Linked DNA regions of Homo sapiens: regions 1 and 3 are each linked to region 2. The links are contacts of gene promoters, found by promoter capture Hi-C in blood cells and fetal thymus (Javierre and others, 2016). All regions are on one chromosome and are shown on one strand. Each heading gives the region's core, a stretch centred on a gene start or on the middle of the fragment in contact. The rest is flanking DNA. Distances are from core to core; before and after follow the strand shown. Region 1 has its middle 81 kb from the start of ALDH1L1. Region 2 holds the start of CFAP100-DT (CFAP100 divergent transcript). Region 3 overlaps LOC124909426 (a long non-coding RNA gene).

What was found. The method cuts DNA at HindIII sites, captures the fragments that hold promoters and counts their contacts. A CHiCAGO score of 5 or more calls a contact.
Region 1: a contact is called between a fragment that was not itself captured here and the fragment with the promoter of CFAP100-DT in region 2, in 3 of 17 cell types (endothelial precursors, megakaryocytes and M2 macrophages). The highest score is 10.7, in endothelial precursors.
Region 3: a contact is called between a fragment that was not itself captured here and the fragment with the promoter of CFAP100-DT in region 2, in 1 of 17 cell types (M2 macrophages). The highest score is 5.7, in M2 macrophages.

What each region holds. Positions count from the first base shown.
Region 1 is chr3:126,259,083-126,263,163 of GRCh38, forward strand. No RefSeq gene overlaps it. Among named protein-coding and RNA genes, the nearest start is that of ALDH1L1, 81 kb to the left of the region's middle. RefSeq lists an enhancer at 1-51. The HindIII fragment of the contact is 4,010 bases long and covers 461-4,081 here.
Region 2 is chr3:126,393,132-126,397,253 of GRCh38, forward strand. CFAP100-DT (CFAP100 divergent transcript) reads right to left here and starts at 1,667. Exons shown (of 2, transcript NR_103789.1): 1 at 1,168-1,667; 2 at 1-162. It overlaps CFAP100 (cilia and flagella associated protein 100), which reads left to right and starts at 1,778. Exons shown (of 17, transcript NM_182628.3): 1 at 1,778-1,847; 2 at 2,811-2,918. The coding sequence starts at 2,870. The HindIII fragment of the contact is 2,207 bases long and covers 1-2,168 here.
Region 3 is chr3:126,239,357-126,243,279 of GRCh38, forward strand. All of the region lies in intron 1 of LOC124909426 (a long non-coding RNA gene), which reads left to right. Among named protein-coding and RNA genes, the nearest start is that of ALDH1L1, 61 kb to the left of the region's middle. The HindIII fragment of the contact is 5,873 bases long and covers 1-3,923 here.

The DNA.
Region 1 (4,081 bases), core at 1,216-3,715, 130 kb before region 2:
ACCCATGGGCTTTTCTGTGTTTGCCAGTCTGGTGAGTAGCAAGTGACACAATAATATAATTTATGGTTTTAGTTCCTTGGTACTGGGGAAGTTGAGGGTAGTTTCATCTGTTCATATTGCTTCAATAACCAGAAAAATGTACAAAGATATCTACATTTTGAAATTAAAAGGTATCAAAAAGAAACAGGCTTTGAGAATCCCTGTGCCTCCACACTCCACACAGGGGGAAATTCAGCCATTTGTGCATCCTTTACTTGGGTTGGAGAAGGTTTTTCTTTTGTTCTTAATCTCAGAATTCCAGATGTCAGACCTGGAAGAGCATAAAGACCTCCTCGCTGAAAGCCCCACTTTATGCATGAAGAAGTGGGGCCCCCGGGAGGGCGCGGCCTGGCTGGTCTCACAGTGGCAGGTCCCAGCATCATCTGCTGAGGGGAAAGGGCTCTTCTCCAAGACTGGACAAAGCTTGCAGCCCCCAAGCACCCCAGGGACTGGTGTCTCCTGGTGCCTATCTAATGGCCTTCAGGTCCTGCACGGGCCCCACAGCCTGACCAGCGGGGGGCAGTGGAGGGCTGCTGATGGCCCCAATCCCGGTCTTCTGGAAACTCTTGCAGATGGGGTCGGGGGATACGGCCGTGCCCCCATGGCTCAGGTTCTAAGACGGGGCACAGACAACCCAAAACCACTAGAAACGCCTTAATAACTTGCCACACAGAGAGCGATGGGCCTCGCAAAGTCAACGCTGTTGGGTTTTCCTCCACCCTTGGATCGGATCGCTGTTTATGTAGCTCAGCGGAGAATTTCAGGACCTTGTTGCGTGAGCCATACCTATTTTTACACACTAGCGTCAGCCTCAGGGTGACAGTGGAGATCCAGGACGGAGACCTACTGTGGGGCAGGAGGTGCCAGGTTTCCATCCGTTGTGGCAGAGCACCTAGCATGAGTGCCACATCTCCCTCCTCCCTCCTCCCTCCTCCCCTCCTCCTTTTCCCCTCTTCCTCCCTCCTCCATTCTTCCCCTCTCCACCTCTTCCTCTCCCTCCCCCTTCCCTCTCCACATCTCCTTCCTCTTCCTCTCCTACCTCCCTCCTCCCTCCTCTATTCTTCCCCTTCCTCCCTTCTCTTCCCCCTCCCTCCCCCTCTTCCCTCTCTACATCTTCCTCTTCCCCCTCTGTTCTTCTTCCTCCTCTTCCCCATCCTCCCTCTAGCCCCTTCCCTCTCCACATCTTTTTCTTCCTCCTCCCCATCCCTCCTCGCTTCTTTCTCTTCACCTCTTCCCCCTCCCCCTCTTCCTTCTCCCCTCCTCCCTGTCCTCCTTTCCCTCCTCCTAACCCTAATCCAAGACTAACCTTAACCCAAACCCTCCTTGTCCTCCTCTCCCTCCTCCTAACCCTAATCCAAGCCTAACCTTAACCCAAACCCTCCTTGTCCTCCTCTCCCTCCTCCCTTCCCTCTTCCCTCTCCTCCTCCCCCCATCTTCTTCCCCTCCTCCTCCTTCCCCTCCTCCTGCCTAACCTCCTCCCTCCTGTAATCTTCCCCTTCCTCTCTCCTCTTCCTCCCCTTCTTCTCCCCCTCTCCCTCCCCCTCTTTCCTCTCCACATCTCCTCCTCCCCTACCCCTCTCTTTCTTCCTGCCTCCCCTTCCTCTATCCCCCCTTCCTTCTTCTTCCCTTCCTCCCTGTTCTTCTCCCACTCCTTCTCCCGTTTCCCCCTTCTTCTCCCCCCTCCTCCCCACCCTTCTTTCCTCTCTTCATCTTCCTTCTCCTCTCCTTCCTTCCCTCTTCTTTCTCCCCATCTCTTCCCCCTTCCCCTCTTCCTCCCCCTACTTCCCCTTCTTTCTTCTCCCCCTCCTCTCCTCTCCCTTCTCCCCCTCCTCCCTCCCTCCTCTTCCTTCTCCCCCTCCTCCTCCTTTTCACTGGTCTCTCCTGGGCTCTCAGGGTGTGAGTTTTATGTCTTCCTTTTCCTCTGAATCTTAGACTGTCTGTGTGTATAACTGATTGTGACCCAGTTCAATGTGTGGCTGATGCAAAGCCCCTGTGTGTGCGCCCTCCCTGGTGGCCCTTTCATCTCATTGCACAATGCAGAGTGGAGTTGCATCATCTCAGTGGCCCGGCCAACACAAAACTCAGCACACCCCAGGGCTTTCTGCTGCCTCTTGAGTAACTGTTCTCTGGCGGGCAAGGTGGGGCTGGGGGGTCTGAGACCCTCCTGCCAAGAGCAAGGCCCAAGCTGTCAGAGCTTTCTTTCCAGCCACTAGCATGTGGCCACCGCCACTTCCTCTCGTGCCCCCCTCACTCCCGCCAAGCCCAGCTTGGGCCACCCTGTCTCAGAGCCAGGGGCTCCCAGGCAAGGCCCCAGCAGAAAAGGCCCATGAAGATCGGCTCTCCATAGCTTCTCTAGGATGAGCCCTCTGGACCCCCAAGCTGAATGCCCCCAAATCCAGGCCTGTGCTCAAAATATAAGGCAAAATAAAATAAAATAAGCTAGAAGATGTTCACATTTCAAACTTAGATTTGTTTCCACAAACCAAAGACCTATATGCAGTGAGGATGAGTTTTAGCCCACAAAGGTGCGCATGTCATTTTAATGCAATTTGTTGCTCAAATTAATCTGTCTCCGTTTTCTATTTTAATTTAACCAAAATCCCAGTCAGTTCAGGGACCTCCACCCCTTTTCCTGAGCCCGTGTCCCAGCTGGCTTATCTACTGCCGAGGCGTGTCCTTGCCCTAGCATCTGCTGACAATATTGTCATTCCCTTCAGCTGTCGTTGTAGATGGAGTCTGCTTTTCCTTTCTACCCAGCATCACCTGATGAGTCCAGCCCTCTCCAAGCTAACATTGCACTCTCTCTCTTGTGTTTGAGAAACACTTTGCTGTTGGTTCACTTCTCCTCCCTGTGGGAAACAGAATACAGCCCCTCAGCAATGTCCATGTCTTGATCTCCCTAACCTGGGAATATGTCACCTTACATGGCAAAGGGAGATAAAATTTGCAGGCGGCATTAAGGTTGCCAAGCAACTGACTTTAAGGTAGGCAGATCATTCTGGATGACCCGGGTGGACACAAGGTCCTTAAATATGAAAAAGCAGGGCAGGCGAGCCAGTGGAAATGAGGTGATGTGGAGGAAGGGGCCAGAAGCCAAGGAGTACAGGCAGCCTCTAGAAGGGAAAAAGGGAAGGAAACAGAGCTTCCAGGGGGGAATGCAGCCCTGTCAACAACTTGATTTCAGCCCAGTGAGACCCACCGCAGACCTCTGACCTCCAGAATCATTAGAGAGTGGGTGTGTGTTGTTTGGAGCCACTAAGTTTGTGGCTATTTGTTACTGCAGCAGCAGGAAACTAATGCACTCCCCATTTTACAGATGAGTAGACTGAGGCTCAGAGAGGACAGCGAAGTTGTCTAAAGTCACAGAGGAGATAGATGACAGAGTTTCCTTCAAGGTGTGGCCAGGGCAGCATGCAGTGCACAGGTCGGCTGCACACACTAGGCCTGGGATTTAGCCTCATCTGCAGACCACACAGAGGGCTTACCATCAGCATCTCAAGGTTTAACCATAGGTCAACCAAAATTGAAAAGGCAGCACCCTTTCAGATCTCCCCCACCCATTGCACTGAATAACCAAGTGGACAAAGCATCTAGAAATGATGTAAGCCTAAATGCATATTTTGCAGGGGAAGGGAATTGGGTGTGTATTGAACACTTCACCTTCGTTTCAGATCCCCGTAAGCATTTCCTAACTCCCTTGGTACCATCGAATGTTTCCTACTCCCTCCAGGCAGTACTAGCCCCCTTTGTCTCTCCTCCTCCTTCTCTTCCTCCTCCTCTTCCTCCTCTTCTTCCTCAGGAGGAGGAACTTCCCTCTATTATGCAGAGCAATTCAGTTCCACTCTGGTCTCTGCTTTAACAATCATTCCCGCATCTATCATGGCTCCCATAAGTGCACAATGCTTGCATTAAGAGGATTGCCCTCCTTGGAAGGGCCTTATCAACCAACTTCCATGACTTGGGCAAGCCCTAGAGATGCCCCAGCCCCAGAGGTGTTATTTCTTCCAAATAAATACAGTGTTGTCCCAAGAGGAATTCTGGT
Region 2 (4,122 bases), core at 417-2,916:
AAGGACGATTCCTGGTGAGAGGCAGTGTGTTCTAGGTAAGAGCAAAGCTGGAATCCGCTGTCTCACTGTGTCCCTGCTCTGTCCACACCGGCAACTCATGCAAAGGCAGGGTGATCATGCAGGTGAAATGGGTGGATTGGTGTCAAGTGCGTGGAACAGTACCTGGCACATAGAAAACACTCTGTAAGGTTCATGGGGAGATTCACGACTGTTCATAAACTGATCTGTTGATGACAATGAATGGGCAGGAGCCTGGGTACCTTTGTTCTCTTTGGGTCACTTATGTTCTAGCTTCCTAAAAGTCTCATTAGAGCACCTTGTATTTAGATAAACCATTACAAAAACACTTACTTTTCTACTTGAGTCACCAGTTTATGAAGTGCTTCTTGTGGTTTGCTAAAACCTAAATCGGAGGGACAGGTTTTTGTTCTGCTTTGATGGTTTGTAGGGAGATAAGGCTGCAGAGGTAGGCTGGGGCCGGGTCATTGAGGACTTTGAATGTCAGTGTAAGGAGCCTCTCTCCTAAGGGTAAAGGGACAACTTGTCTTTCAGCACATTTGACAATAGCAGCTGTAACGAACACACACGTGCACACATGCACACACACACACTACATGTGCACACATGTGCACATGCACACATGCACAAATCACATATGTGGCTTAACACAATACAACATTCTTCCTCCCTTGTGCAAAGCCCACTGTGGATATTGCAAGTTGGGACACTATTCTACCAGCGAAGATTCAGGGATCCCTGCTCCTTCCATCTTGGGAGCTCCTCCTCACTCCCACCCCCAGCTCCAATGGAGTTCCTGTTGTGGATGTGGTCTTCCCACCCACTACACCGGCCTTAGGCAGAGCCTGGCACAGCTGGGATCCTCACTGGGACTACATTGCTGGGCTGCAGACTGCTCCAGAGTCCCCCCAGAAGCCCCTAAATGTCCCTGAAAAGATGAGTCACTGACTGTGCTTTCAGCTCCAAGCAGCCTTTATCAATCTCTCAATCCCCATAGATACTGGGAAAATCTAGGAACATGTTCAGAACTCAAAGAGGGGTCTTCTGCTGCTGCTTTTTGTGGGGAGACAGGATCCCTGAGCTGGGGGACCAGACATCCTGGTGCCCCTGGCTTCAAGCAGCTGGTGGATCTGCGCGCTCAAAACTTGCCCTGGTCTGTATGGCCTCATCCTCTCGCTTGTCCCACTATGATGGATCTCGCTCGCTCCGTAGAGCAGTGGCTTTGCAACCCTAGCCAGCACTGGGGTCGCGCGTGGACTTGTCAGGACACACATTGCTGGGCTCCACCCCGAGTTTCTGATTCTGGGGCGAGGATTGAAAACTTGCTTTTCTAACGAGTTCCCAGCATTTTCGATGCTGCTAGTCCTGAGACCATACTTTGAAAACCGCCCCTCTAGAAAGTGCGATCCCTCCCCAGGAAAGAAGCAGGGCTATTTTTGCTCCAAAAGTATCCATCCTGCACGCCCTCTTCAGTGCTTGGCACGTGGCGAATAAACCAATCAGGATGAAAGGAGCCAACCCAAGTGCGGAGTGTTGAACCTCAGAGGAAGAAACCCGCGTTCACCAGGCCCAGGCCTGGGCCAGGCGCTGTCCTGGCGGCGTCAGGGAGGACATCGTGCCCAGAGCTCGGACCCAGCAGCCCGGCCCCGCGCCCTCCCTGTCCCGCGGCCCGCAGGCCCAGCCCTCAAGCGCCCAGCCTCCGCGGCCTTTGTGGCGTCACAGCCAGCCTGAAGAATGGTTGCCTTGGAGACGTAAACCCAAGAGCCCTGCTCCTGGAGCTGAGAACTGCAGCGCGGAGGCTTCGGAGCGAGCCGGGGCAGTCGGGGTCGGTGGGTGCGCTCGCGGTCCGGGGAGAGGGGGCGCGCGGGGTCCGTGAGGGCGCGTGGGGGCGGCGGCAGGGGTGCGAAACCAGGGCCCGAGGGGCGCGCGTGGCCGGGAGCGGACTTGCAAGGCGCCTTCCAAGGCTGCCCGCTCGCATGCCACTTGCTTGAAACACACCCATCTACCATCCACCCCATCTGTCCTACCATCCCTGTGCACCTCGCTGTGTGGCTCGGGGCCTTGCAGAGCGCGGGTGTTAGGAGGCGACCCTGCGAACCCCAGGCTCACCCAATAGGGGGCTGCAGCAGGAATGCGGCAGGAATGGCACAAGCTTAGAGTGGGGGCCCTTTCCAGAGGCAGCCCCTCCTGACTGTGACTTTGGACACCTCGCTGAATCTCTGCTTCCTCCCCTGCAAAAATGAAAATTCATTCAATGGATGAAGTTAAGAAGTGCCAAGGGTATGTCAGGAGCTTGGATGAGCAGAAAAGACCCCCCTGTTCTCATGGAGCTCACATTTTAGGGGGAAATAGACAACGAATGGATTTTTAAAGTGATAATCAGATAGTGGGAATTGCAGAGAAGAAAATAAAGGCCACATGGGGGTGGGGAGGAAGAAACCACTTTGGATGGGATGGTGAGAGGTCTCTCTAAAGAGGTGACATTTGAGCTCGGAATTGAAGAGAAGGAAGCCCAGCACCCCCAGCTGGGTATGGGAGAATATTTTTTGGCCGAGGAGGCCGAAAATGCAAAGGCTTGAGGCCAAGATTGATGTGTTCTAAGCACAGAAAAAGTAGGCAGCTAGAGCCAAGTCCAGGAGGTGAGAGTGGACCCTCGGGTGGGAGAGGCAGGGAGCCGGCAGGTGTCCCCACAAGGTGAGCCCTCAGCAAATGTCGGTGGCTGTCAGCCACCCAGGGGGAAGGAAGCTCTGGGCTTGGGGACCACCAGGCTCAAGCACTGTGTCACTCCTCAGGTGAGGATCTCCTTTAGAAGAGGAGAAGCCTTGCATCAACCTCTTGGGCCTCAGCCAAGATGTCTGAGATACCGTCCACTATAGTCTCCAAGAACATGACCAATGACAGTAAGTACCGGGCCAGGGTGGGCACTCTCAGAGGTCAGGGGCAGCTTCGGAGCCTGTCCAGCTCCCTCACAGGTTAAGGTAGCTCTAAACCAAACACTAGGCAGGAGTCATAGATCTGCCTACTTCCCTTGAAACAAGGCATATGGATTGCCTGCAGCTGCTGTAACAAAGCACCACCACAAACTGGGGGGCTGGAGTCACAGACATTTGTTTTCTCAAGCTCTGGGGGCTGGATGTCTGAGATCAAGTTGTCCAAAAGGCTAGGTCCCTCCAAGGGCTCTGAGCGAGAACCCATTCCGGGCCTCTCTCCTGGTTTCCAGAGCTTTGCAGGCAATCCTTGGTGCTCTTTGGCTTGTAGAAGCATCACTCCCATCTCAGCCTTCCTGCCCATGTGGAATTCTGCCTGTGTGTGTCTGTGTCCAAATTTCCCCATTTTACAGGGACCCCATCACATTGGATTGGAGGCCTACCCCGCTCCAGAATGGCCTCAGCTTAGTGAATTACAGCTGCAAAGACCTTATTTCCAAACAAGATCACATTCTGAGACAGTAGGGGTTGGGACTTCAACATACGAATTGGGATGACACAGTTCAACCCACAACAGACCATGAGGAAGGTGTCACCGTGAAGGTGAGCTTCTCTCAGCACCCCTCTGACCACAAATGCCAGGCTGGGCTCCAAGGAGGTGGTCAGCTGGCGCTAGGCCCTGGATGAAACATGCCTGCCCTAGTGGAATTGCATGCATTTGCCAAGATCTCACACAGGGCGACGCTGAGGGAGGCTGCCCAGGCCTACCTGGGGCCCTTCAGCTTTTTTATTGGAATTTAATTTGGTTTTGACCAGGCATAGTATTCCATGGTTCAAAATTCAAAAGTGTGTTAAAAGCCCCTCATTGTGAAAAGCCTCTCCCACCCTGTCAAAGGCATACAGTGCCCCTTCCTTAGAGATGGCCACTGTCCCCTGTCTCTTCTAGGCTACCAGCTCAGTGCACATACAGGCAAATGTGTGTAGATGAGGTTTGTTCTTTTCTTACACGGAGATCACACAATGAAAACCCTGTCTGCACCTTGATTTTTTTAATTAACCCATACATTGTAGAGACTGTTCCTTATCAATACATCAAGAATTCCCTTATACTTTTTGTGCTTTTGAGTAGAATAGTAATCTTTCAGTATGGCTGTATCATAATTTATTAACCAATTCT
Region 3 (3,923 bases), core at 972-3,471, 150 kb before region 2:
GAACAGCATAGGAAAATCCCACCCTCATGATTCAATTAGCTTCCACTGTGTCCCTCCTACAACACATGAGGATTATGGAAGCTAAAATTCAAAATGAGATTTGGGTGGGGGCATAGCCAAACCATATCAGCGACTTTTACTCCAGTACCCAACAAGTTCCTCATCTCCATCTGAGACCACCTCAGCCTGGACTTTATTGTTCATATCACTATCAACATTTTGGTTAAAGCCATTCAACAAGTCTCTAAGAAGTTCCAAACTTTCCCACACGTTCCTGTCTTCTGAGCCCTCTAAGTCTATAGGAAGTTCGAAAGTTTCCCACATTTTTCTGGTCTTCTACTGAGTCCTCCAAACTGTTCCAACCTCTGCCTGTTACCCAGTTCCAAAATTGCTTCCATATTTTCAGATATCTTTACAGCATTACCCCATTACCTGGTACCAATTTACTGTATTAGCCCATTCTCATGCTGCTAGGAGGACATACCTGAGACTAGGTAATTTATAAAGGAAAGAGGTTTAAGTGACTCACAGTTCTGCAGGGCTGGGAAGGCCTCAGGAAACTTACAATCATAATGGAACGGGAAGCAAAAATGTCCTTCACATGATGGCAGCAAGGAGAAATGTAGAGCAGAGGTCAGGAAAAGACCCCTTATAAAACCGTCAGCTCTCACGAGAACTAATTCACTAGGATAAGAACAGGATGAGGGAAACCTCCCCCATGATTCAAGTATTTTCACCTGGTCCCTCCCAGGACATGTGGGTATTATGGGAACGACAATTCAAGATGAGATATGGGTGGGGACACAGCCAAACCATATCAGGTAGAATATTCAAATCTATAGAGACAGAAAGCAAATGGGTTTTGGCCAGGTGCTGGGAGTGTGGAGCAGCTGAGAAGTGACTGCTCACAGGTACATGGTTTTATTAGGGATGATGAAAATGTTTTGAAACTTGTACTAAACATACTAAATGCCATTGAATTGTACACTGTATAAAATGTTGAATTTTATGCTATATGAATTTCATCTCAATTTTTTAAATAAAAAGAGGAATCAAATGTGATTATACATACATATGTGTGTGTTGCATCCTTGTGTGTCTATTTATATAGATAAATAATCTTACATCTCTAGAAGGGAGAATGTACTTTTTCTATATCCCTTAAACATTTAAAGGAATTTACCATGAAATCCTTGTGTCCAAAAATAAAAAGAAATTTTGTTGATCAGGATTCAATAATATTAGAAACAGCTAATAAAAATAGGACCAAAAGTTATATATATATATATATGTTAAAAAACGTGCTCCCAGCTGAACTTGAATCATGGGGGTGGTCAGAATAAAGAGTGCAGACTAAAAGAAAAGCAACCCAAAGGGGAGCACTTCATAACAACATCAGAAAATGAAGGAAGTAAGGAAGGACTCAGCTGTAAACTCCAGAAAACAGAAGAAATAAGGAAGAGAGAATTGGTAAAAATAAAAGATGAGGCCAGGCATGGTGGCTCATGCCTGTGATCCTAGCACTTTTGGAGGCCAAGGTGGGAGAATCACTTGAGGCCAGGAGTTTGAGAACACCTGGGTAACATCGTGAGACCTTATCGCTACAAAAAAATTTAATTTAAAGATAAAATTATTAAAACATAAAATAGAAATAAAAATAAGAGAAGATAGTCACAGGAGAGAGAAAAATAATTATAGGTGAAAGCTAAATATACACCCATGGCACAAATTTCAAAATCTAGATGAAATGAATGATTTCCTAGAAAAAAATAAATTATAAAACTTCATACAAATGAAGTGGAAATGTTGAATAGAAAACCACCATAGAAGAGACTGAGAATGTGATAGGAAATCTCCCCTTGAATAAGGCACCAGAGCCAGGTAGGATCAATAAACAAATCATTCTGGTGCTATTTAAACTATGTCAACCTACATAAAAAGGGAAAATTTTCCTATTCATTATAACAAGTCAGCAGCTCTAACACCCAAATTGTATAAAAGAAATATAAGAAATCTATACACCAATTTTACTTCTGAATATAGATGTAAAAATTCTAAATAAAACATTAGTGAAACAAATCAGTAATGTTTCAAAAAATGGTACACTATCAAGCAGGGTTTATTCCAACAATGAAAAAGTGGCTTAATATCAGGAAAACCTAAGAAATAAAAGCATTATTTTATTAGCACAAGCTGAAAATGCAGTTAACCAAATTTATCAGTTGTTCTTAATAAAAACTCCAGGAACCAAGGAAAACTACTTAATAAAGATGGTCCACCAAAATTAACAGCAAGTATTATTTTGAACTACAAAACACTAACATCATTTTAATTAAACCATTAACTACAGAGGGATACTCATTCTCACCATTATTCAACATTGTCTTGGAAGTTGTAGTGAATGCAATGAAATAAGAACATGGAATAATTTCTATAAGCATTGTGATATGGTTTGGCTCTGTCCCCACCCAAATCTCATCTTGAATTATAGCTCTCATAATTCCCACGTGTTGTGGGAGGGACCCAGAGGGAGATAATGGAATCATGGGGTGGTTTCCCCCATTCTGTTCTCATGGTAGTGAATAAGTCTCATGAGAGCTGATGGTTTTATAAGGGGAAACCCCTTTCACTGGGTTCTCATTCTTCTCTTGTCTGTCGCCATGTGAGATATGCCTTTCACCATCTGCCATGATTGTGAGACCTCCCCAGCCATGTGGAACTGTGAGTCCATTAAACCTATTTCTTTTGTAAATTTCCCAGTCTTGGGTATGTCTTTATCAGCAGCATGAAAATGGACTAATAAATATTGGAGGCAGAGATAAAATAACCTCTGCTCAGAATGATACAATTATATATAGAAAACCAATAACCTATTAAGGAGGCAACACCGTAGAGACAGAGAGCAAATCAGTGCTTGTCTAGACTGGAGTTGGGAATGAGGAAATGCAAACTGGATTGGAGTGATGTTTGTGTAACTCTGTAAATTTACTGAAAGTTATAAGTTGTACATTTTAAATGAGTACATTTTTTAGTAGGTAAATTATGCCTCAATAAACTTGTTATAAAAATCTTCTGGGTGGAATAAGAACATTTAAGATGGATGAATGTGATATTAAATAAAACTACTCTTTTTCTTAAAAAGTTTCAAAAATTTAGGAATGTACTTATAAGAAAAGTATAGAAACTATAAAGAAAATTAATAAACCTTATTGAAAGGCATAAAGCAAGAACCGAACTAATAGAAAACAACCATAATCTTGAATGGGAAAACTGAATAGCATCAAAATGCCAATTGTTCTAAAATTAATATTAAAAATCAGTGCAATTCTAGCAAGAATCCCAACAACATTTTTCTCTCCATTGGTTAAGATGATCTTAAAGTTTATGGGGAAAAACAGATACCAAGGATGGCAAATGAAAGTTATAAAATAGATCAATAACAATGAGAAGATTTGCCTAACTAGGAACAAAGGCATAGGGTAAAACCGTAGTCATTGAGACAATATGGCCTTAATGTAGGAAGAGACAAATGGGTCAATGAAACAGCAAGTAAGATCCTAATATACATACATATATATGTGTATGTGTGTATACACAGACGTAGAATTTTCACATATGACAGAGATCGTTGTTCAATTTTGTGGGAAAATGGGAAATTGTTTAATGAACGGTACTGGCACAACCAGCTGTCCATTTGCAAAACAATTACATTGGACTCTCATCTTATACCATATACAAAATTAAATTCCAAATATACTAATGACTTAAACTTAAGAAGCAAAATAATGGAAATACTGCAAGAAAAAATCTATAAGATTACATGACCACCCTAGAGGGCAAGAAAGAACTTATTAATTAATACTGGAAACCAAGAGGTTAATTTTTTTTTAAAAGAAAAATACCAGAATGAAAGAGTTCCCTGA